7 separate regions of the Homo sapiens genome follow, and regions 1, 2, 3, 4, 5 and 7 are each linked to region 6. Evidence: promoter capture Hi-C in 16 types of primary human blood cells and fetal thymus (Javierre and others, 2016). All regions are on one chromosome and are shown on one strand. Each heading gives the region's core, a stretch centred on a gene start or on the middle of the fragment in contact. The rest is flanking DNA. Distances are from core to core; before and after follow the strand shown. Region 1 overlaps LOC105377144 (a long non-coding RNA gene). Region 2 has its middle 68 kb from the start of KBTBD8. Region 3 has its middle 36 kb from the start of KBTBD8. Region 4 has its middle 9.6 kb from the start of KBTBD8. Region 5 overlaps LOC105377144 (a long non-coding RNA gene). Region 6 holds the start of TAFA4 (TAFA chemokine like family member 4). Region 7 overlaps KBTBD8 (kelch repeat and BTB domain containing 8).

The links. The method cuts DNA at HindIII sites, captures the fragments that hold promoters and counts their contacts. A CHiCAGO score of 5 or more calls a contact.
Region 1: a contact is called between a fragment that was not itself captured here and the fragment with the promoter of TAFA4 in region 6, in 11 of 17 cell types (endothelial precursors, M2 macrophages, naive CD4 T cells and 8 more). The highest score is 11.5, in endothelial precursors.
Region 2: a contact is called between a fragment that was not itself captured here and the fragment with the promoter of TAFA4 in region 6, in 4 of 17 cell types (M2 macrophages, naive CD4 T cells, M1 macrophages and 1 more). The highest score is 11.6, in M2 macrophages.
Region 3: a contact is called between a fragment that was not itself captured here and the fragment with the promoter of TAFA4 in region 6, in 4 of 17 cell types (non-activated CD4 T cells, M1 macrophages, endothelial precursors and 1 more). The highest score is 8.5, in non-activated CD4 T cells.
Region 4: a fragment that was not itself captured here is called in contact with the fragment with the promoter of TAFA4 in region 6 in 3 of 17 cell types (M0 macrophages, endothelial precursors and naive CD4 T cells); the score reaches 13.7 in M0 macrophages.
Region 5: a contact is called between a fragment that was not itself captured here and the fragment with the promoter of TAFA4 in region 6, in 9 of 17 cell types (M1 macrophages, M2 macrophages, naive CD8 T cells and 6 more). The highest score is 16.1, in M1 macrophages.
Region 7: a contact is called between a fragment that was not itself captured here and the fragment with the promoter of TAFA4 in region 6, in 5 of 17 cell types (M2 macrophages, M1 macrophages, endothelial precursors and 2 more). The highest score is 9.3, in M2 macrophages.

Annotation. Positions count from the first base shown.
Region 1 is chr3:66,940,348-66,943,083 of GRCh38, reverse strand. All of the region lies in intron 1 of LOC105377144 (a long non-coding RNA gene), which reads left to right. Among named protein-coding and RNA genes, the nearest start is that of KBTBD8, 57 kb to the left of the region's middle. The HindIII fragment of the contact is 3,311 bases long and covers 1-2,736 here.
Region 2 is chr3:67,065,288-67,068,048 of GRCh38, reverse strand. No RefSeq gene overlaps it. Among named protein-coding and RNA genes, the nearest start is that of KBTBD8, 68 kb to the right of the region's middle. The HindIII fragment of the contact is 4,397 bases long and covers 1-2,761 here.
Region 3 is chr3:67,033,051-67,035,964 of GRCh38, reverse strand. No RefSeq gene overlaps it. Among named protein-coding and RNA genes, the nearest start is that of KBTBD8, 36 kb to the right of the region's middle. The HindIII fragment of the contact is 299 bases long and covers 1,506-1,804 here.
Region 4 is chr3:66,987,306-66,990,198 of GRCh38, reverse strand. No RefSeq gene overlaps it. Among named protein-coding and RNA genes, the nearest start is that of KBTBD8, 9.6 kb to the left of the region's middle. RefSeq lists enhancers at 1-748, 749-1,498, 1,499-2,248. The HindIII fragment of the contact is 891 bases long and covers 1,163-2,053 here.
Region 5 is chr3:66,961,044-66,963,986 of GRCh38, reverse strand. The region is part of intron 1 of LOC105377144 (a long non-coding RNA gene); the gene reads left to right. Among named protein-coding and RNA genes, the nearest start is that of KBTBD8, 36 kb to the left of the region's middle. The HindIII fragment of the contact is 4,638 bases long and covers 1-2,943 here.
Region 6 is chr3:68,931,137-68,933,849 of GRCh38, reverse strand. It overlaps TAFA4 (TAFA chemokine like family member 4), which reads left to right and starts at 1,303. Exons shown (of 6, transcript NM_182522.5): 1 at 1,303-1,610. The HindIII fragment of the contact is 2,333 bases long and covers 1-2,164 here.
Region 7 is chr3:67,007,283-67,010,193 of GRCh38, reverse strand. It overlaps KBTBD8 (kelch repeat and BTB domain containing 8), which reads right to left. Exons shown (of 4, transcript NM_032505.3): 4 at 1-2,272. The coding sequence ends at 1,809. Among named protein-coding and RNA genes, the nearest start is that of KBTBD8, 10 kb to the right of the region's middle. The HindIII fragment of the contact is 3,515 bases long and covers 1-2,911 here.

The DNA.
Region 1 (2,736 bases), core at 165-2,664, 2.0 Mb after region 6:
CTGTTTTTATGCCAGTACCATGATGTTTTGTTTATTATAGCTTTATAGTATTTTTCGAAGTCAGATAATGTGATGTCTCCAGCTGTGTTGTTTTTGCTCACAATTGCTTTGGCTGTTCAGAGTCTTTTGTGGTTCCCTATAAAAGTTAGAATTTTTTTCTGTGTCTGCGAAAAATGTCATTGAAATTTTGATAGGGATTGCATTAAATCCATAAGTCATTTGGGGAATATGAACATTTTAACAATGTTAATTCTTCTAGTCCATAAACACAGGGTATCTTTCCATTTATTTGTGTCTTTTTCAATTTCCTTCCTGAATGTTTTATAGTTTTCAGTGCACAGGTCTTTCACATCCTTGGCTAAATTTATTCCTAAGTATCTTTTTGTAGTTATTCCACAAAAAATATTGTTTTCTTGATTTATATTTTGGATGTTAGTTATTAGCATATAGAAATACGACTGATTTTCATATGTTGGTTTTGCATCCTGCAACTTTACTGAATTCATTTATTAGTTCTAATAGTTTTTTGTGGAGTCTTTAGGGGTTTTTTTACATATAAAATCCTGTTTTCTGAAAACAGGGACAATGTAACTTCTTCCCTTCTAATTTGGATGCGTTTTATGTCTTTCTCTTGCCTAATTGTTCTGGCTAGAACTTCCAATACTATGTTGAATAGAAGTTATAAGCCAGTTCTGTATCTGAAAAGTGGATATTTAACAACCTGGCGATGAAGCTATTCATGTCATATGAGATAACACCTTGTGAAAGTACTTCATGAAAACACAATGTGCTGTGATTATCATGAGCAGATGGCTTTGAGCATGGAAAAGCCAGTGGTTACATGGCGGTTCAGGTAACTCCTTTCATGGAGAACTCTTGGTCTAAGAGGTGCTGCTTAGGAAAAACAGAGAACCATTTGGAAAGCTCAAACCTCAATTTGACCTAATTGGCTATCTATGAGCTGTGATTTGAGGAAAGAGTTCCAAGGGAAGGCCACCATTACCATCCAAAATAAATTCCCCATCTGCATGCTGATCCTTTAGATAGGGCACTTTAAAGACTTCCTTCATACCTGAGACCACAGTATTCTAGATAAATTCATGCTTTGTAATTTAGTCCTTGCTTATACTCATATCTGTGTGTGTGTGTGTGTGTGTGTATCTTGAGCAAATGCCAAATTCATTTCTTGTATCAAATAGAATTTTCTGCTTGTAGTTATCTGATATATATTTTCTGCCAAAAACAAATTATCTATATTAAATGATATAGATATCTATATTATCTATATATAGATATGATATAGATATCTATATTATCTATATCTAGATATGATATAGATATCTAGATATGATATAGATATCTAGATATGATATAGATATCTAGATATCTAGATATGATATCTAGATATCTAGATATCTATATAATAGATAATTATATCTATATTAAATGATAGAAATTATAAGTTTAGCCTTTAATACTAAACAGTATATTTAGTGTAGAGTGTTGGGAGTTAACTATATAAAGGAGATATGTAAAGGTTTCCTTTTTCTTAGTACTTTATCCAGATAAATATCCTAATTCAGATTTTACCAATTAACAGCCCCAATTTTTTTTTACTTCATCTAACCCATAATAACATATTCAAATTTAATTTAGCTCAAAAATTTTTGTTGAATACCAGCCCATGACCAGTGTTAGGTGGCAAATAAGTAAGATGACATCCCCCAAAATAAGTGTGATGAGAATCCTATCTACTAAGAGAGACTCAAATGATGACTTAATAAATATGGAATCCCAAAAGTCCATAAAAACTAAATTATCAGGGCTATCATTATAAAGAAATCATCTTACTTAAAACTAATCTGTACTTCTTATAAAGCAAATTATGTAACCCTTGTATTTGTGAGTTGTTATGCTGATTTATTTTCAGGTCAAAATGTCGGGAAAAGGTTAAGTATGTAAGATTTTTTTGGAAGTTGTCTCCTCTTTATTCCTGTTCCTGCGACACTTTGCCCACACTTTAGCTATTGTACTTATCATATTGCACTGTAATTATTTGTTAAATAAATGTTTTAAATTATTTATCCAGTCTCCCCCACCAGACACTGAACTTCTCCAGGCCAGAGTCTGTGTTTCTTCTTTATGTTCATCTTTGTGTTGTAGAGAACAAGACATAAGATGTTTTCCTCCTTCACTGCTAGGTTCATGGCTGAGACTTCTACAAAAAAAAAAAAAAATACATATGAGCAAGTTTTATATGACGTGAGAGTTTTCAGAAATGAAGAACCAAAGAAACAGGAAAACTTGTGTATTTTTATACTTAGGTTTAATGAAGAGTAGACAGCCATACAGAAGTATGATTGGACAAAGGTATGATCTAATCGGAATTAACTGGGGGCAACTTGTAAGGCCTATTTGTTCAGATTCTTCTTGGCATCTCTATGTCTTCATTCCTTCCTCCAGATACAGGAAAGATGTCTCTGGAATGAGGGTCTTATGACCTACTTTAAAGAAAGATCAGATAATTCTTTTACGACCTGCTTCAGAGGAGAACTTTGGGAGGAGGTCAAAGAGAACTTCCTGCTTCTGCTTTTTTCTGAAACATCAAGAGGCCATATTTTGGAATGGCATGTCCTAAACTCTGTCCGTATCGATAGTATCTAGTACCGTACTTGGCACAAAAGAGGGCTCACTGAATTTTTATCAAATACATACTTCAAATGTTCTGTGCAGTTT
Region 2 (2,761 bases), core at 251-2,750, 1.9 Mb after region 6:
TATTGATTTACATACATTAAAATTTACTCTTTTTAAAGTACAGCTTTATGAATTTTGGAAAATGCATCAATTCCTATAACCACCGCCACAATCAAGATTCCTGATCCTTAACCCCTGGCAACCATTCTATCCCCTATAGTTTTGCGTTTTTCAGGATGCAATGTAAATGAAATCTTGTAGCCTTTGAGTATAGTTTCTTTTGCATCTGAGATGCGTTCAAATTGTTTATGTGTCAATATTTTTGCTTTTTATCACTGAGTAGTATTCCACCATATGAATGCATCTCAGATTATCTATTGGCTCACTGAAGGGTTCCTTCCAATTTTTTATGATTATGAATAGAGCTGCTATAAGCCTTTATGAAAAGGTTCTTGTGTGACCATGTTTTCATTTCTCCTCGGTAAATAGCTAGAAGTAGAATTACTGGTTCTATGGCATAAGTGAACATGTAACTTTATAAGAAACTCTCAACCTATTTTTCAAAGTGGCTTTATTATTTTAAACTCCCCACAATGTACGAGAGTTTTAGTTTCCCTGCATCCTGGTCAGTACTTGGTGGTGTCAGTTTTGTCATTGTTGTTTTCGGTACTGTTTCTTCGTTGGTTATGTTAGCTATTCTAATAGATATGTAGTGGCATTTCATTGTGGTTTTAATTTGCATTTCCCCAGTGACTAACAATATTAAACACCATTTCATGTGCTTATTTGCCATATCTTCAATGGTGAATTGTTTGTTCAAATCTTTCATTCATTGTTTAAGTTGGGTTATTTTCTGATTACTGAGTTTTGAAAGTTCTTTATATATTCTGGATACAAGTCCTTTATTAGACACATGACTTGCAAACCTTTGTCTCAATCTGTGGCTTGCTTTACAATCTCTTAACAGTGTCTTTCCCAGAGCAGAAATTTTTATTTTGGTGAAATCCACTGAAATGCCTTTGTAATTTTATCAAAAAGTAATTGAGCATATCTGCATAGGTCTATTTCTGAACTCTCTATTCTGCAGCATTAATTTATGCTGTTGGAAATTTTAATTAGACTTTAAAAGTTAAAATTAAAATCTTTTGTTTATTAACTCAGAATTTATATTTTACAAAAACAGTTGAAATTTATTTTGTTCCAAGCTAACCTGCAAAGATAAATGACTATATTAATAGAGAGTTGAAATTTATGTAATATCACTTGACCTGAGATTTAAATGAGCCCTCAATAAATGTATTCTATAATAAAGTTGGTGACATAAATAGGTACCACACCATGTCCCAAAGCATTTGTCACAGATCTTCTATGAGGTGCACTACCAAGAAACAAACAATTTTCCACCATCAAAACTATTTCAGAAGCCCTGCTTGCTCTTATATGTAGCTTCTCAGTAATGAACAATGTACATATCACAGGCTCTGAGTAGTCCTACAGTGAAGGGCCATTTAGTGTTGTATAGTCCAGAATGTTCCAAATATACTACATTGATCTTCCATCAACCCTTATCAACATTTTCCAAAAGACCATTTTGGTCATTCTTCACGTATTTGTAGGTTTGTGTTCTCTCCGGTGGAGAATTCCCAACATGTTTTTCATATACATTTTTTCTCTTTTTTTTTGAGATGGAGTCTCGCTCTGTTGCCTAGGCTAGAGTGCAGTGGCGTGATCTTGGCTCATTGCAGCCTCCAACTCTCAAGTTCAAGCAATTCTCTTGCCTCAGCCTCCCAACGTAGCTAGGATTACAGGCCACGCCATCACTCCTGGCTAGTTTTTGTAATTTTCGTAGAGACCAGATTTCACTACGTTGGCCAGGCTGGTCTTCAACTCCTGGCCTCAAACAGTCTGCCTGCCTCAGCCTCCCAAAGTGCTCAGATTACAGGCGTGAGCCACCCCGCCCAGCCTCATATCCTTTTTTTCAATATAGTTTGAGCATCCTTTTTAAACCTACTTCTCTTCCACTGATTATTAATTTAATTTTTTTAGTTCTTTGTAATTGAGGCTTTTCTGTGGAAAATGAGTGAATCATTTAGGATGCAACAAAGGACTTAAACTTGAACATGTTGTAACGTTTTATGCTTTGTGCAAACAGAAATAGCTACTACACTTAATTACAAATCAAACTCCTCAAATGGCAGACCTCATAGTATTTATTAAAATCAGGATATGTTGATGTTTTAAGGCATACTATCATCACAATACATTCTTAACTCTGTGAAATAACAAATAGAAAAACAAAATGCAAATTACTACCAACAAATCAAACTGTTTTGAAAATTGATTATATGATGTAAAGTTTGAAAAGCAATGAAGATAATCATTATAAGAAATAAAGTTAACTACATTTTGTATTTCTAGCCACAAATATGCTGCATATTTAGTGTGCAGTCTAAAATTAACAAAATTGTCTCTGAACAGTTGACAGTCCAAAGAATAATTCTAAATTGGTTTTAGAAAAAAAAGCTGCCGTGTTCACATTTCAGAGAAGAAGATGTTTGTAGAAAACTACACAAGTTTTAAAAAGTATTGTCTTGTTAATATCAATTAGATAGAAAAATAGCTTGTATAATTAGAACATATCCATATATTTTAATATATTTATCCACATAGTAAATATTTCTAACCAACTAATCAAGGCATGTATTTGAAAAGGTATCAGACTATGTTATCACTTGGAATGGAAAACAGAGTCTACTAAAACTGTTGATCACATAGAAGAGGGGAAAACTTAAAGTGGAAATTAGCAATGATTCAAGGATTTTCTACTAACTGAAAATGTCTA
Region 3 (2,914 bases), core at 406-2,905, 1.9 Mb after region 6:
TCTCTCTCTCTCTCTCTCTCTCTGAATGTCCATGCCATTTTACCTGTAGGTTTCTCTGGTAGGAAGAATGCTCCTGAAAGATGTCCACATCTTAATCCTTGAGGCCTATGAGCATATTATGCTGCATGGTAAATGGCTACAGACCTAAGATGGAAGGAATATCTTGGGTTATGCAGGTTGGCCGAATTTAATCATATAAGCCCTTAAAAGCAGAGAACTTTCTCAAGCTGGTGTCAGGGATATGTGGCAGAACATGAAGTCAGAGAGACGGGAAGCATGAGAGCTCTCCCTGCCATTGCGGGTCTGAAGGTGGAGCCAGTCACATAAAAAGCATGAGAGGGAAATGAGTTCTGCAAGTAAGCAAGAAGCTCCTAAGAGGACCCTGAGTGCCAGGGGAGAACTGCAGCCCCCACTGATACCTCGATTTTGACTTATTTTATTTTATTTTATTTTACTTTATTTTATTTTTTGAGGCAGGGTCTTACTCTGTTGCCCAGGTTGGAGTAGAGTGGCACAATCACAGCTCACTGCAGCCATGACTTCCTGGGCTCAACCAATCCTTCCTTCTCAGCCCTCAGTAGCTGCAACTACAGGCATGTGTCACTGCACCCAGCTAACTTTTAAACATTTTTTTTTTTGTAGATACATGGTCTCCCTATGTTGCCCCAGCTGGTCTTGAACTCCTGGGATCAAGCAATCCTCCTGCCTTGGCCTTCCAAAGTGCTGGGATTACAGGCATGAGCCACTGCACCTGGCCTATGACTAATATTTATAGTACACAAAATCCCAATATAATGGAATCAGGTTCAAGTGGTTCAGATTACTAGAAATCACAGTGAGAATTGGAGGTAAAGCTGACACAGATTCTCTGAACAGAACTAGCAAGTGAGAAAAATGATAGGGCACACTGGCAAATCAAGAAGTAGAATTGAGTTAATGGTGATGGCATCAAAATAGATAGAAACCTTTATATAAGCATGCATTAAGCCCTTCAAAGAACTGAAGAGGGTGTGTGTGTGTGTGCACACATATGTGTGTGTATGTGTGTGTGCATGTGTGTCTGTATAAGATGCGGGTGTTTGGGGGCAGTTTCGTCATGACTAAGACCATTGGGACATCTGCAGTCAAAGAAGGTAAAGGGAATCCAAAGTCTGGTACTTGATTGTAGAACAAAAAAACTGTGATGAACTCAAGCACGTATCAGTTCACCCTTTCTTCCAATTTGCAAGACACGGAGCCTATAATCAATCACTATTTTTAGAGAAAGTAATGATTAGATGGAAAGGAATCAGCAGAAAGCACATGGTTTACAGAATTGTTTCTCACAGAGGTTATTGTAACCAGAGCAACACATTGTCTTCATTATGGGTCATAAAAAAATTGCTCATTTCCCTAGACTTTTTTTGCTGTGATGCAACATTATTTATATTTTACAAGTTGACGTAAATGGTATCTTGATGAGCATTTTTGGAAAGAGTTGCTCCTTGATTAAGAAATGCTAAGCTTTCTCTGATTGATTCTAAATTATGCTATACTTTTTTTTTTTTGGCAAATGTCTATTGTTATAAATCTGGCCATTAGATATTTCTAGGAACATCAGTATCAAGTGAGAAGCCACTGTATCTCTCTAGGGTCTGTGAGCCTCTGAAGTTAAATACTTGGGAGTATAAGTGCATATTTCTGTAAAAAAAATAAAAATAAAAATAAAAATAAAAAGAGGCCATAGTGTCATCAGATGTTCAAAAGAGTCTGGAACTAAGTTTTTTTTTAAATTAGGAAACCCTTTGCTCTGAATGTACAAGCTTAGTTATTTATTTCAGGTTGTAACCTTGCCTTGGCCCAGTGTATTTTCCATTAATCTCCAGAAGTGCTTTAGATTCATGAGAGTAGACCCCCCACGCTCAACCCTGTGTGACAGGAAGGAGCCCAATTAAATAAATACACGTTTTTGAAATAATTATGTTGTGACTGGTGAGGATCAAATAATTAATTCATCTTCTTTTTTAAACTTTTAGCGAACATTTCACAATGATGCTCTTTCCACCTTTGTAAAATAGGGAGATGTCATTTGTAGTAGGCACAATGGTTAGCCCACATGAGTGAGACTTAGTATAGATTTTAAAATACTGAGGTTCAGCCATAACAATAAAGTGGTTCTCAGAGTGACAAACAACATGTGCTTAAAATCTTTCAGTGGTGCCCCCAAATTCCTAGAATAAATCCCAAATTCCTTCAGTAGCTTTGTAATCTAACCCCAAGTGTACAGGTTTATCTTTTAATATTACAGAGTTTCTTAGCTTAAGCATTACTGACCTTGAGAGCTGGTCTTTGTTGTGGAGGCTGTCCTGTGCACTGGCGGATGTTTAGCAGCTTCCCTGACCTCTACCCACTACAAGCTAATAGCAGCCCCCTCTGCCACTTGTGACACCAAAAGTGTTGCCAGAAATTGACAAATGTTCCCTGGGGCCAAAGTCTGCCTTGATTAAGAACCACTCATTTATAGTCCTTCATTCTCTCAACTCATCTCCACCATGATGAACTTCCTTCCATTTCGGAATGCACATTTCTTTCTCCTCTGTACCTTTGTACCTCTGTACCTTTTATGTATGCACCACACTTCCCACTCTGTTATGCCTAGCAAACTCCTCCGTCTTATCTTCAGGACTCAGCTTAGCAGCCTGGGTTAGATAGGTACAGCTTCCACCTGCATTTCCTCTTTCACAGCCTAGCTCTGTTGTATGATTTAGTTGAAGGTTTATCTGTACCTCCTATTAAACCATAAGTGGCAAGAGATCAAGATCATTACTGAGGTCTTCACTGCTGTATTGCATTGCCTGGCACATATTAGGAGCACAATAAAGAGTTGCTGAATAAACTAACATTTGAGCCCCACAAAGATAAGTCAACACTACTA
Region 4 (2,893 bases), core at 359-2,858, 1.9 Mb after region 6:
CATATGACTAAGACAAACCAGCACTTTCTAAGATTGGTTTACTTTGGCCACATGGGAAAATAAACCAAAACAATTTATTGCAGGGATTCTCCCCAAGGGTGATTTTTGTCCCTCAGGGAATATTTGGGAATCTCTAGAGACATTTTTGGTTGTCTCCTTTTGGGGTGTGAATGTTGATACTGGCACCTAGTGGATAGAGGCTAGGATGGCTATACCTCAGCAAAGAATTATCTGGCCCCAAATGTCAATAGTTAAGAACTCTGGGCTCTTATAATTTTCACGCTTTTCTCACACACATGCCTTAATCTATTGAAATGAAAATTATGCCTTCGAAATGTCTATAGTTGAGACTATATACACCAATACTCATGAAGTCCCACTGTGCTCTATCACTGCACATTTTATGTCCAGGCATATGGACTTCTATTCAGAAGTGCAGATTTAGTATATTCATTTTGAGCTCCAAATGAAAGAGTTGACTATATTTTCAAAAATATCTTGTAATTCAAACTTAAAACACTGCCCTTCAAAACAGTACCATAAATATATCCTCCAACTTGATGAAAGCAGCAGTCTGTCCCATTGGAAAAACAACACGGCATGACATAATCGGACACTGACCATTGACGATAAGCTTCATGTGAGAGCTATTGTGAGATCTTTTTTACAAGAGCACATTTTTCTAAGAGCAGTCCCTGCCACGATAGGAGCAGTCAGGAAAAGATCTACTGTAAGTGACCAAGGAAAGGGGTGTGTTTAAGCTCAGTGGTTCTAATTGAGTTTGTGAGACAGGCTTTGTCAAACACAGTTGAATGCAGAGGCGAAAGGCATGTGGAAGGAATTTTTTATACTTAACGGTGGGGAACTATTAGTAAACTACACTGAGGAATCTTTGATCTTTCAGCATCAAATTGTGTTAGAATTTAGGTTTAATGTTATTTCCCAGAGGGTAAGTTTTGTTTCCTAGTCTGAGCCTCAAGCCTTGCAGAAGAACTGACTCCGGAACTGACTACCTGGCAAAAGGATATTTGTGGGTTGTTAATTTGTGAATCAGAAGGCAAACCCTGGCCCAGCAGTATGTTAATCCCGATGGCTGAGAGGGAGCCAATATGATCACAAGAATGCACACAGCTTGGGGTCTTAGAAACAGCTTAAGAAAGCTTCAACTATGTTTGGAATGTACCGAATCAATAAATTGCTAATTTTTCCACCTGTGTGTTAGCCTACTTACTCTTCAGGGAGTTGAGGCTTGTAGTGCAAATACAATCCAAACACTTTATTAATTGCTCAGGCTAAAACAGGTCAAAGGAGCATGCCTAAGCTCAGTTTGAAATTCTTTTACTTACAAGGTTCCTGCAGTCACAGGGGAAATTTAATTGCTGTGCAAATTCTTCGTCAAAAAATTGGTCCCTTTTGTATCTGTCCTTGGTGAATACCAGCCATTTCTTCCTTTCACCCTCTAGGCCCTGTTTATTAGGTAAATGCCTTTGTTCTAAAAGAATACAAGCTAAAGGCCGGGTGCGGTGGCTCACGCCTGTAATCCCAGCACTTTGGGAGGCCGAGGCGGGTGGATCATGAGGTCAGGAGATCGAGACCATCCTGACTAACAAGGTGAAACCCCGTCTCTACTAAAAATACAAAAAATTAGCCGGGCGCGGTGGCGGGCGCCTGTAGTCCCAGCTACTCGGGAGGCTGAGGCAGGAGAATGGCGTGAACCCGGGAAGCAGAGCTTGCAGTGAGCCGAGATTGCGCCACTGCAGTCCGCAGTCCGGCCTGGGCGACAGAGCGAGACTCCGTCTCAAAAAAAAAAAAAAAAAAGGAATACAAGCTAAAGTGAAGGGCCATGATTTCTACTACTTATTGTCAAGTGGTATGGCACTAATAATAAGTATAAAAGTACATATGCAGAAAATAATATAGCAAACGTGGTAAAATGTCAACCTTTTGGTAAATTAAAGACTTTGTGGGAATTCACTGTACTCTTGCAGGTTTAAACATTTTCAAAAGAAAAAGTAAAGAAACAAAAGTAGTAGAAAGGAGGTTCTACTAAGCTTGAACTGTTGCAATGAGATGACAATAAAAATTATTTTGTTTTTTCCTTAAAGAAAATATGGCAGAACTATGAATGTTTGGTTTTTTGTTTGTTTTGAGACAGGGTCTTACTCTGTTGCCCACGCTGGAGTGCAATGGTGAGAGCACAGTTCACTGCAGCCTCAACCTTCTAGGCTCAACTGATCCTCCCACCCCAGCCTCCCAAGTAGCTGGGATTAGAGACATGTGCCACCATGCCCAGATAATTTTTAAATCATTTGTAGACACAGGGTCTCACTATGTTGCCCAGGCTGGCCTCGAACTACTGGGTTCAAGCAATGCTGGACCCTCGGCCTCCCAAAGTGCTGGGATTACAGGTGTGAGTCACCCCACCTGGCCAGAGTGAGTGTTTGGATATGATGGAAAGCAGTACAAGTTGAGTATTCCTTATCACAAATGCTTGGGACCCATGTATCTGACTTTGAAATGTTTTGGATTTTAGAAAACTTGAACATATATAATGAGATATCTTGGGGATGTGACCCAAGTCTAAACACAGAATTCATTTATGTTTCACATATACCTTATATACATAAGCTGAAGATAATTTCATATAATACTTTTAATAATTTTGTTCGTGAAACAAAGGTACAACTGTGTGTTTGACTGCAACTTGGAACATGACTTCAGATGTGGAATTTTTTTTTTTTTTACTTTTTTTTAATTATACTTTAAGTTTTGGGATACATGTGCAGAACGTGCAGGTTTGTTACATAGATATACACATGCCATGGTGGTTTGCTGCACCCATCAACCCGTCATCTACGTTAGGTATTTCTCCTAATGCTATCCCTTCCCTAGC
Region 5 (2,943 bases), core at 85-2,584, 2.0 Mb after region 6:
ACTGGAATTAGGATAATTCAAGGATGGTTTAGCAAAGAAACTATTTATAAACATGGAGGCAAGGCACACGGAAACCACAAAGAATAGTGCAACCCCTTGGGGCTGCTATCACCTTAAGAATCATCGGAAACTTGAGTTGGTATATTTTAGGATTGTAAAAAATTAACTTTAAAATGTCTCCAGGTTGCTATTTCTATGATGTGACACAGGAAGGATCCACTTCAGATGTGTATTAAATACTTTTTAAAAATTGTCATGTATCTTTTTTCATAAGATGAGGACCATTTTAATTTATGTTAATTTGTTAAATAGTTTTGTTGTGATAGGGATTTCTTTCTTGTGAGGATGTGCCTTATATTCCTATGTTATTTTTCCTTCTATATTTAGTTGAGACAATCATATGATGAACAACCGCTTAATGATTACTGCAATCTGAATATGACTACTCAGTCTATGATTTAAGAGATTTACTGGGAAATAACTTGACACCTCAAAGAAATATTTAAGTTAGAGGAGAAGAATAAGCCAGTGATTTTGCTTTTTCTTTTTCCCCTGATATGCCTTAGTTTTTCTTATTCCATATTTTATTTGGGGAAATTGTATGCCTCTTTAAGCCCCCAATTTATCTATTGTATCTTCTGTACCCTGGTAGCCTTTTCTCAATTCTCAGAAGGCAATTTTCCCCCTTTGAACCGCTTTTGCTTTTTCTTTTATTTTATTATCCTCTTCTCTGGGTGGCTTCATCTTTAAGGTCTCGTTTTCAGTTTTATCTTTATCAATCTTCTTCTTCCTTATTGATCTTGTCTTTCATTAAGTGTGATGTATATGGGGATGATGAAGATAATTAAGGGTTGAAAACAGAATGATTAATTTAGCATGGGAAGACAAATAGAACAGGGGCAAAATGTTTAACCTGACTCCACCTCCAGGGCACTACTTGTATCAAAGAGTAAAAGACACATGGAATTCAATTGCTTCTGGGCATGTAAGTGATGCAGTTCCAGGTAGAACTGCAAATGATATTAGGAAGAGGATTGCCTCCTGGAGGTTGGAAGTTTGCTCCTGTGGCATTCACTTCTGTGTGGGCCCTCGCTCGACTCATGGGTGCTAGCTCTGGTTTTGTTATTAAATTGCTTGGACTTTGTTCTTTAAGTTACCTCATCTGCTATAAAAAGGATTTTAGATAGACTCTAGTGTATGGACAGAATCATCTGATTTTGCTCTTTGAACCCTACATTTTATGACACAAAACAAATTCGCAGTTAAGATAAAATACAATGCCTTTTAAGTAGTCTGCCTTTTATATCCTTATTTATTTGAACTACTTGATTTTGAGATTAAATAAGTTTCTAAAAGTTGAAAATGTGATGAGAAACATACCCAAAGATATTTCTTCAAGGGCATACATTACAGCGTTGCTTATAAAAAGAAAATGTCAGAAACAGAAGCCTAAATGACTATCAGCGGAAGACAGATATCCATTTATAATTCAAACAACAAAGCTATGCAAATATTAAAGTAGATGCATTGTGCTGCCATATGAAGACCTCCGAAGTACATTTAATGGGAAAAGAAAAAAGTGGCAGGCCAGTTAACATAAGCCCATCTGTGTTCAAAGGGGGAAAAAAGGGCTATACTTACATACGCTTGAATATGCAGACAAATCGAACTAGGGGTGGGCTGGGGAAAGTAAGCTCTTTGGAACTGCCTGAATTTTCATTAGTTGCATGCATTACTTTGTTTTTTACAAAAGCATAATGAAGACTTCCTTAATATTTCCTTGATTACAACTGAAATGTTTATCTTTGTTTCCCTTTACTTTCCTTCCTGAACAATCTTGAACAAGCAGTTAGGTAGGGCACAGCAAGGTAGGCTTTGCATGAAGGAGTAGCCTGATGTAGGGTGTTGAAGACCAAGCAGGGCAAAGAGGGCATCCGAGTGAGTGTGGGAAGGCATGGGGACTCACAGCCCAAGCAGAATGGGGAGGGCATCCTTACAGAGAGTCAGCTTGGTGTCAGAGCCCATATAAAAGAGGAGATGGCTCTATGGGAAGCAAGAGCCTAGGTGGGGTAAGGAAGATGTCCATACATGGGAGTGGCCAGGCATGGGGTGTCAGAGCCCAAGCTGGGTGAAAAGGATTTTCACACAAGAGGGTTGCTCAACAAGGGGAATCAGAGCCCAAGCGGGCTGAGAAGACATCAACATGGGAGAGATGGGTTGGGAAATTGGTTACAGTGATGAGTAAATATAATTATTATGGGGGCCTGGTTCCTTAGTCTTAGAAAGACAATACAAATACAGAAAGGGAAAGGACTAGGATGGATTCTGTGATGTTGGATTAAAAATCAGATATATTGGTATGAATTCATGAATTTCAATATATAGATAGAAATCAATATCTATTTCTATAGATAGATATAGCAATCAATATATGTAGAGATAATTATAGTTGTCTGGATATATGTAGATAGGTATAATTATGTGGTTATGTATTATATGTATACACAGACTTAAATTGGTACACATATAGATATATGTGTGTGTGTATATGTGTGCAGTTTTGTGTATGTGTTCCCTAGAACACACAGTATCCACTGAGAAGGCTTGTGAGCAACAACACACCAATATCAATGAGCACATCTAGCACCCAAATCTTGGCTTCTATATATAGTCTCCACTAGAAGGTTCAGGGTTTCTTGGAGGATTGACTGATATCTGGGCTAGGGCAGTGAAAGAAGAAGGTGAGCCTGGAACATCTTGTGCCAGAAAGCAAGGAAGTGCTCAGATAATGATTGGCACATGGCAGCACAAAGGCATTTCTGCCCACATCTGGGACAAGTTAAACATCAAAGTCAATCATGTTAGTGACAGATTTTAAGTCACTGAATAAAACAGGAAATGCGCGACCATGATGATATAAGTAAATTAATGAATAAGTTGATG
Region 6 (2,713 bases), core at 54-2,553:
AGGGGTAGAGTCAGAGAAGGGTGAACATACTTTGGAGTGCAGCAGGGGCAGGATGGCACATAATTGTATGTCAATGCAGAGTAAAAGGACCAGAAGATGATAAGCCAAGCCAATGACAGTGAGCAGCATAGTGGTACAGAGCAACGTTTTCTAACTTTATGCATGCACCAGCCACTTGGGCATCTTGTTAAAATGAAGATTCTACTTCTGGGGTGGGGCCTGAAAGTCTGCAGTTCTAAAGTGTTCTCAAGGGACCGCTCTACGACGCCATGCTTTGCATACTAAAGAGCATGGATTTACTAGTTACCTGTGTAATCTTCAGTAAACGATTTAACTTCTCTGTGCTTCAGTTATCTCATCTATAAAATAGAGATCAGATGAACTAATCCCAGTAAAATGAATACCATTAAGTGACACTGATTATCAGTTACTTCACTTGCGGAAGAGTGGAGGGCATGACTAGGAATGGGGTGGGAGGAGGGAGTCAAAGAAGTCTTAGCTGAATTTTTTTTTTTTTTTTTTTTTTTTTTGAGACGAAGTCTCGCTCTGTCGACCAGGCTGGAGTGCAGTGGTGCGATCTCGGCTCACTGCAAGCTCCGCCTCCCCGGTTCACGCCATTCTCCTGCCTCAGCCTCCCGAGTAGCTGGGACTACAAGCACCCGCCACCACGCCTGGCTAATTTTTGTATTTTTAGTAGAGACGGGGTTTCACCGTGTTAGTCAGGATGGTCTCGATCTCCCGACCTCATGATCCACCCGCCTCAGCCTCCCAAAGTGCTGGGATTACAGGCGTGAGCAACCGAGCCCGGCCCCAGCTGTATTTTATACATTAAAAAAGAAAAGTATTTAGGTATTCATACGTGGGCCGAGTTTTCTCCTCTCTCATACAAGCACATTACACGCGAAGCCAGATTAGTTCATGAATGTGCTACTGCACGGGGTGGCTAAGAAATCCTGCTTGCAAACCGCTTTGGGTCCTGCGTGGAGAATGGTTTCGAGTGAGAGCCGAACCCTAAATCCGTCTTCCTTATGTGGAGCTCAACGCGACTCTCAGGTATTCAGGAAGAATACCTTTTGCTCAGCACCTGCGGAGTGGTGGCCACAGCGAGGCGCTCGGGAGAGGCGCCTGGAGGCCGGCAGTGGGGGCGCGCCGCCTGAGCAGGGGTGCGGGGCGGGGAGAAGGCCGGCCCACGTGGACCGCGGGGCCAGGCAGGGACAGGAGCAGCCGGGCGGCCCGGCCAATCAGCGCGTTCCGCGGCGGGCCCGGCCCCTCCTGGTCAGCGCGCTAGCTGGGCTCGGCTCCGCACTGCTAGCTGCGCGCCGCCCTGGACGGGGCGCACCGACTGCGCGCGCGGCTGCGGGCAAACATCGGGAGTCCTGCCTCAGCTGCCGCTTCTCCAGCAGCAGCTTCAGGCTTCTCCCGCAGGAGCTTCGGGCTTCTCCTGGTAGAGACGTGGGAACTTTTCTTCTCCTGGCGAGGCTGCAGAGGTGATGGGCCGCTCCCGGGGCTCCCGCGGGGAGGCGGCACGGTGAGCGTCCTCGGGCTCCGGTGCGGCGATCAGTACCTAGTTCCGGACGCGCCGGTCCGACTTGGATGCCGGCTCTAGTCGAGTAAGAAGGGTTGGAAGGGATAAGGAGGGGCGAGAGGATGGGGTGGGGGTGGATTTGGACCCTGTATTTAGGTGCTGTCTCGTGGGCAGCCGCTGCCTCTCGGCTGGTACCGAGTTAACTCAGCTCGGTGCAGCTCCCCTCATCCCGGCTCTCTGGGGCGCCGGGGAGAGTGCCTGTGCTGAGGTCGGCGTGCAACCCGAAGTTGGAAGGGGCACTCCGAAGTAAGGATGTGTGGCTGGAGAGAGGCAGCGGCCGCTTCCAGTTTCGGGGTTCATGTCTGACAGAATCCCCGGGGGTGCTCTGCTGATGCGGAGGAGGCCACTCGATGAATTGGTATAGGGGGTGGTGAACTCACCGTGAGCTCTTTTCTGGACAAGTCGACCTTAGCGCTTCATCCCTTTAATCTGAGCTAGGATCTTTCTAGGAGCAAGCAGGTGGGAGCCGGTCAGCGTCCCCCCGCCCCCACCCCCACCCTGAAGCTCTGGTTGCTAGGATCTTGCTTGAAGGGCGCAGCGAGCGCTCGGGAGGCGTCTTCCAGCTGGGAGCGCAAAGCTTCCCGCCCAAGTGGAGAACTGGAGCGGGTCTGGAAGTTGCGTCTCTTTCCGCGGGAGGCATCTCAGATTTGCCCACCAAGGTGGCATCTCTACATTTCTTTCGCTCTTTTTCCCACTTTGCCCTGTTAATCCGCTCCTAGAAGAGAGGGCATCCTTGACCCTACGCAAGGAGCTCGGGAGAGGATTGGAACTGGAAAGCTTGATCTCCTGCACCTGGTGAGGCTGCCCAAGCCAGACACAGTGCCGCTGGTGCGTTTTCTTCTCGAATCAGCATCATTTAACGTTTAGGGGCTCCACGGAGCCTTAGTAAAGCTGTGAATCAGCTCCTAAGCAGTATGTACATGCACGGGTTCACGGACTCGCCGAGACCTAGCCTGGTGCCCATCCCCCGTCACCGAGATTCAGGGACCCCCCTTTGGTTTAACGTCTTTATCCCTGAACTCTTTTCCCTTTTAACTTTTCAATGGTCTTCCCTCTGAGACAAGCAAGGTTGATGTGATGTGACAGGCGATCCCCGTGTGTGGGGATGGGCGCCTTCGAAGCTTTGGT
Region 7 (2,911 bases), core at 394-2,893, 1.9 Mb after region 6:
CATGATGATAAAAACAAAAACAAAACAGAAGATAAAACTGGGGAGGTAAAAATGTTGACAAAGTTTATACAGAGATTACAGACATACTATCAACACCAATAAGAAGAAACCACATATCTAGCTAAGACTAGATTTTAAAATGTTAATTCTAGAAATGCTGTCCATTTTAACTTCTGCTTCAGAAAACATTCCCTACTTGTAGAGGTCTATGTAAAGCAGTTTGGAAAGTTTCTGAAAAACGAGGTATGTGATGCAAAGAGGCAATGTTTTCAATTTGTTTCACAGTATCACATTACAATTTGTGCAAGATTTTTAAAATACGAACCATGCCAGTTTGCTTTCAAGTGAATACAAATATTGTGATTGAGGGCAAAATCTGTCCTATGCTTATACCCTTTACGAATTACTCTAGGCTTAGTAAAACATGTTACTGATCCAAATGCCTGCCTTAGGTATACAAATAAGTTGGTTTATCCTTCATGTTAATATTCCTAACTGATGATTGTTAGAAATTTCATCAGTTAAATGCAAAAAATGCTTTAGTACCTAGAAAGCTATGGTTCTGTTCACTCACTCTTTTCCTTTTCAATCACCTTCAGCTAGAAGGAGGATTCCAACGTAAAAGTATTCATCACTGTTAAGTGCAAAAATGGAAAAAAAAAATGAGGTTTTAATTGTAATATGAAACTTAAAGACATTAAATTAGACCACTGCAGGAATTTTGTTTCTGGAAAGCAGAATTTTAAAAGTAGGTATAAAACTTCACATTATGCTCTGTGCAGAAGAGAAATAAGTTACCTTTCCTTGTACCAATAATGAATGGACAGGTAGATGGAAGAGAAGGTTGGGCTACAAATGGCCCATGTTAGTGCAAACTGGGTATAATGTTCCTACTATTCTAAGATTGAGTCCAGTTAGATGAATAACTGGCCATACCCTCCTATCACATAAGTAGAGAATCTTGTGAAATCACAAGAGTTCAACAGGTAAAGTACTATGGCCATGAAATCCACACCAATTTGAAAGATAGGCATAGGCTCAGACCATTTAAATCCATCTAGTTATACACATGAATTAAGTTAGACTAGCACCAGCCACCTGTGAATATGAGCACTTTTCCAGATTTTCACAAAAGAGACAGTGTTAGCACTTGAAAAAGTCATCGACAGAAAACTGCCACTTTAAAACTTTAGCTTAACTTAAAATTACATGGGAAATGGAAACAATCAGACTAAAAGCTCTTTCTGAGACTAATTTTTTCTTCGATCTACTCTAATAATAGAACACATTTAAATCTCAGTACACTTGAAAACAGTACACAAAAATAGATACATATAAATATTAAGAATGAGGATCTAAGTTAGTGCTTCTCTGTGTTAGAGAGGTCACAGCTAAAGTCCTAGTGATATTGCCTCAGATTGTTACCCGTATTTAAAATTAAAAGTCACATCAAACAAGTTTAGACGTCTTTACCCAATAATACCCTAAATGCTCTTATAAGAGTGCATAGTTGTCCTGATTCATCTGGTACCTCAGTTACTATTTATCACAAAATTATAAAATGAAATGATTAATTTTATGCCAGGAAAAAAAAATGCTGATAATTGCACTTTGTTATCTTTTCCTTACTGAAATGAAATGTCACAAGGATGAAGGAAAATCCCTCCCTACCCTGCAATCTTTAAGCATACCCATTTTCCATGTATAAAACTCTCTCAGCTTTCTGAAATACTGTCAGCACTCTTTTGTATCAAAGACAAGTTTCCTAAGAATGAGATGCCAGTGATGCACTAAGGCCTGCTACTCATTTAGAGTACTTTCTGAAGACACTGAGGATACAGTTTAGCAACAGCACATTCAAAATGCCGGCCAAGGTCCCAGAGCCGATCTGGGGTCTCATACACTTTCATCCACTGGTCAGCAATGTCATCATATTGGTAAAGGGAATTTTTTCTGCTGGTTCTGAAGACGTGTTCTTCAACAGTCACTTGAGTAGCTCGAACAAATAAATGGAGTTTGTTCTGGAAAAGTACCAGTTTAAGGTATGGATTTATGGACTGATCACATGGAAAGTCTTTCTTACGAGTCCATTTATTTAGCTCAATATCATAGGCTTCTACAGTAAACATACGTTGATGATTTCCACAGGTTCCAGCTATGTAGTAGATAGAGTCCTTGTATACAGCTGCTAAGCCCTGGATTCTAGGCACAGTCATGGGGGTTAAGAAACCCCAGTAGTCTTTTTGAGGCTCATAGAAGAGAAAAAATTCTCCTAAAAAAAAAAAAAAGAAAACAAGAATATGTAAATTTTTATGTTTGGTTTTTGGTTATATGTTGTAACTACAACCTCTAAAGATTAAAGGGCATAATTTGCTATATATTTCACTTTCTAAAACATTTCTTTTATAATCTCCAGAGATACATTCATATGGGTTACAAAATACCTTAAAACTTTGTCATTCCATGACACAATATAACAGATAATATTATAATCAACCTGAATTGGGAGGTTTGTATTGGGAAGGTACAAGGAGTTACTTGGGCTTGATGGCAGAATTGTTAAGAGCTTGATTCTGGCCAGGCACAGTGGCTCACGCCTGTAATCCCAGCACTTTGGGAGGCTGAGACGGGTGGATTACTTGAGGTCAGGAGTTTGAGACCAGCCTGGCCAACATGGTGAAACCCCATCTCCATTAAAAATACAAAAATTAGCCAGGTGTGGTGGCAGGCACCTGTAATTCCAGCTACTCAGGAGGCTAAGGCAGGAGAATCACTTGAACCCAGGAGGTGAAGGATGCAGTGAGCCAAGATCACGCCACTGCACTCCAGCCTGGGTAACAATGTGAGACTCCATCTCAAAAAAAAAAAAAAAAACACAAACTTGATTCTATTTGCTCTATCCAATTTGTGT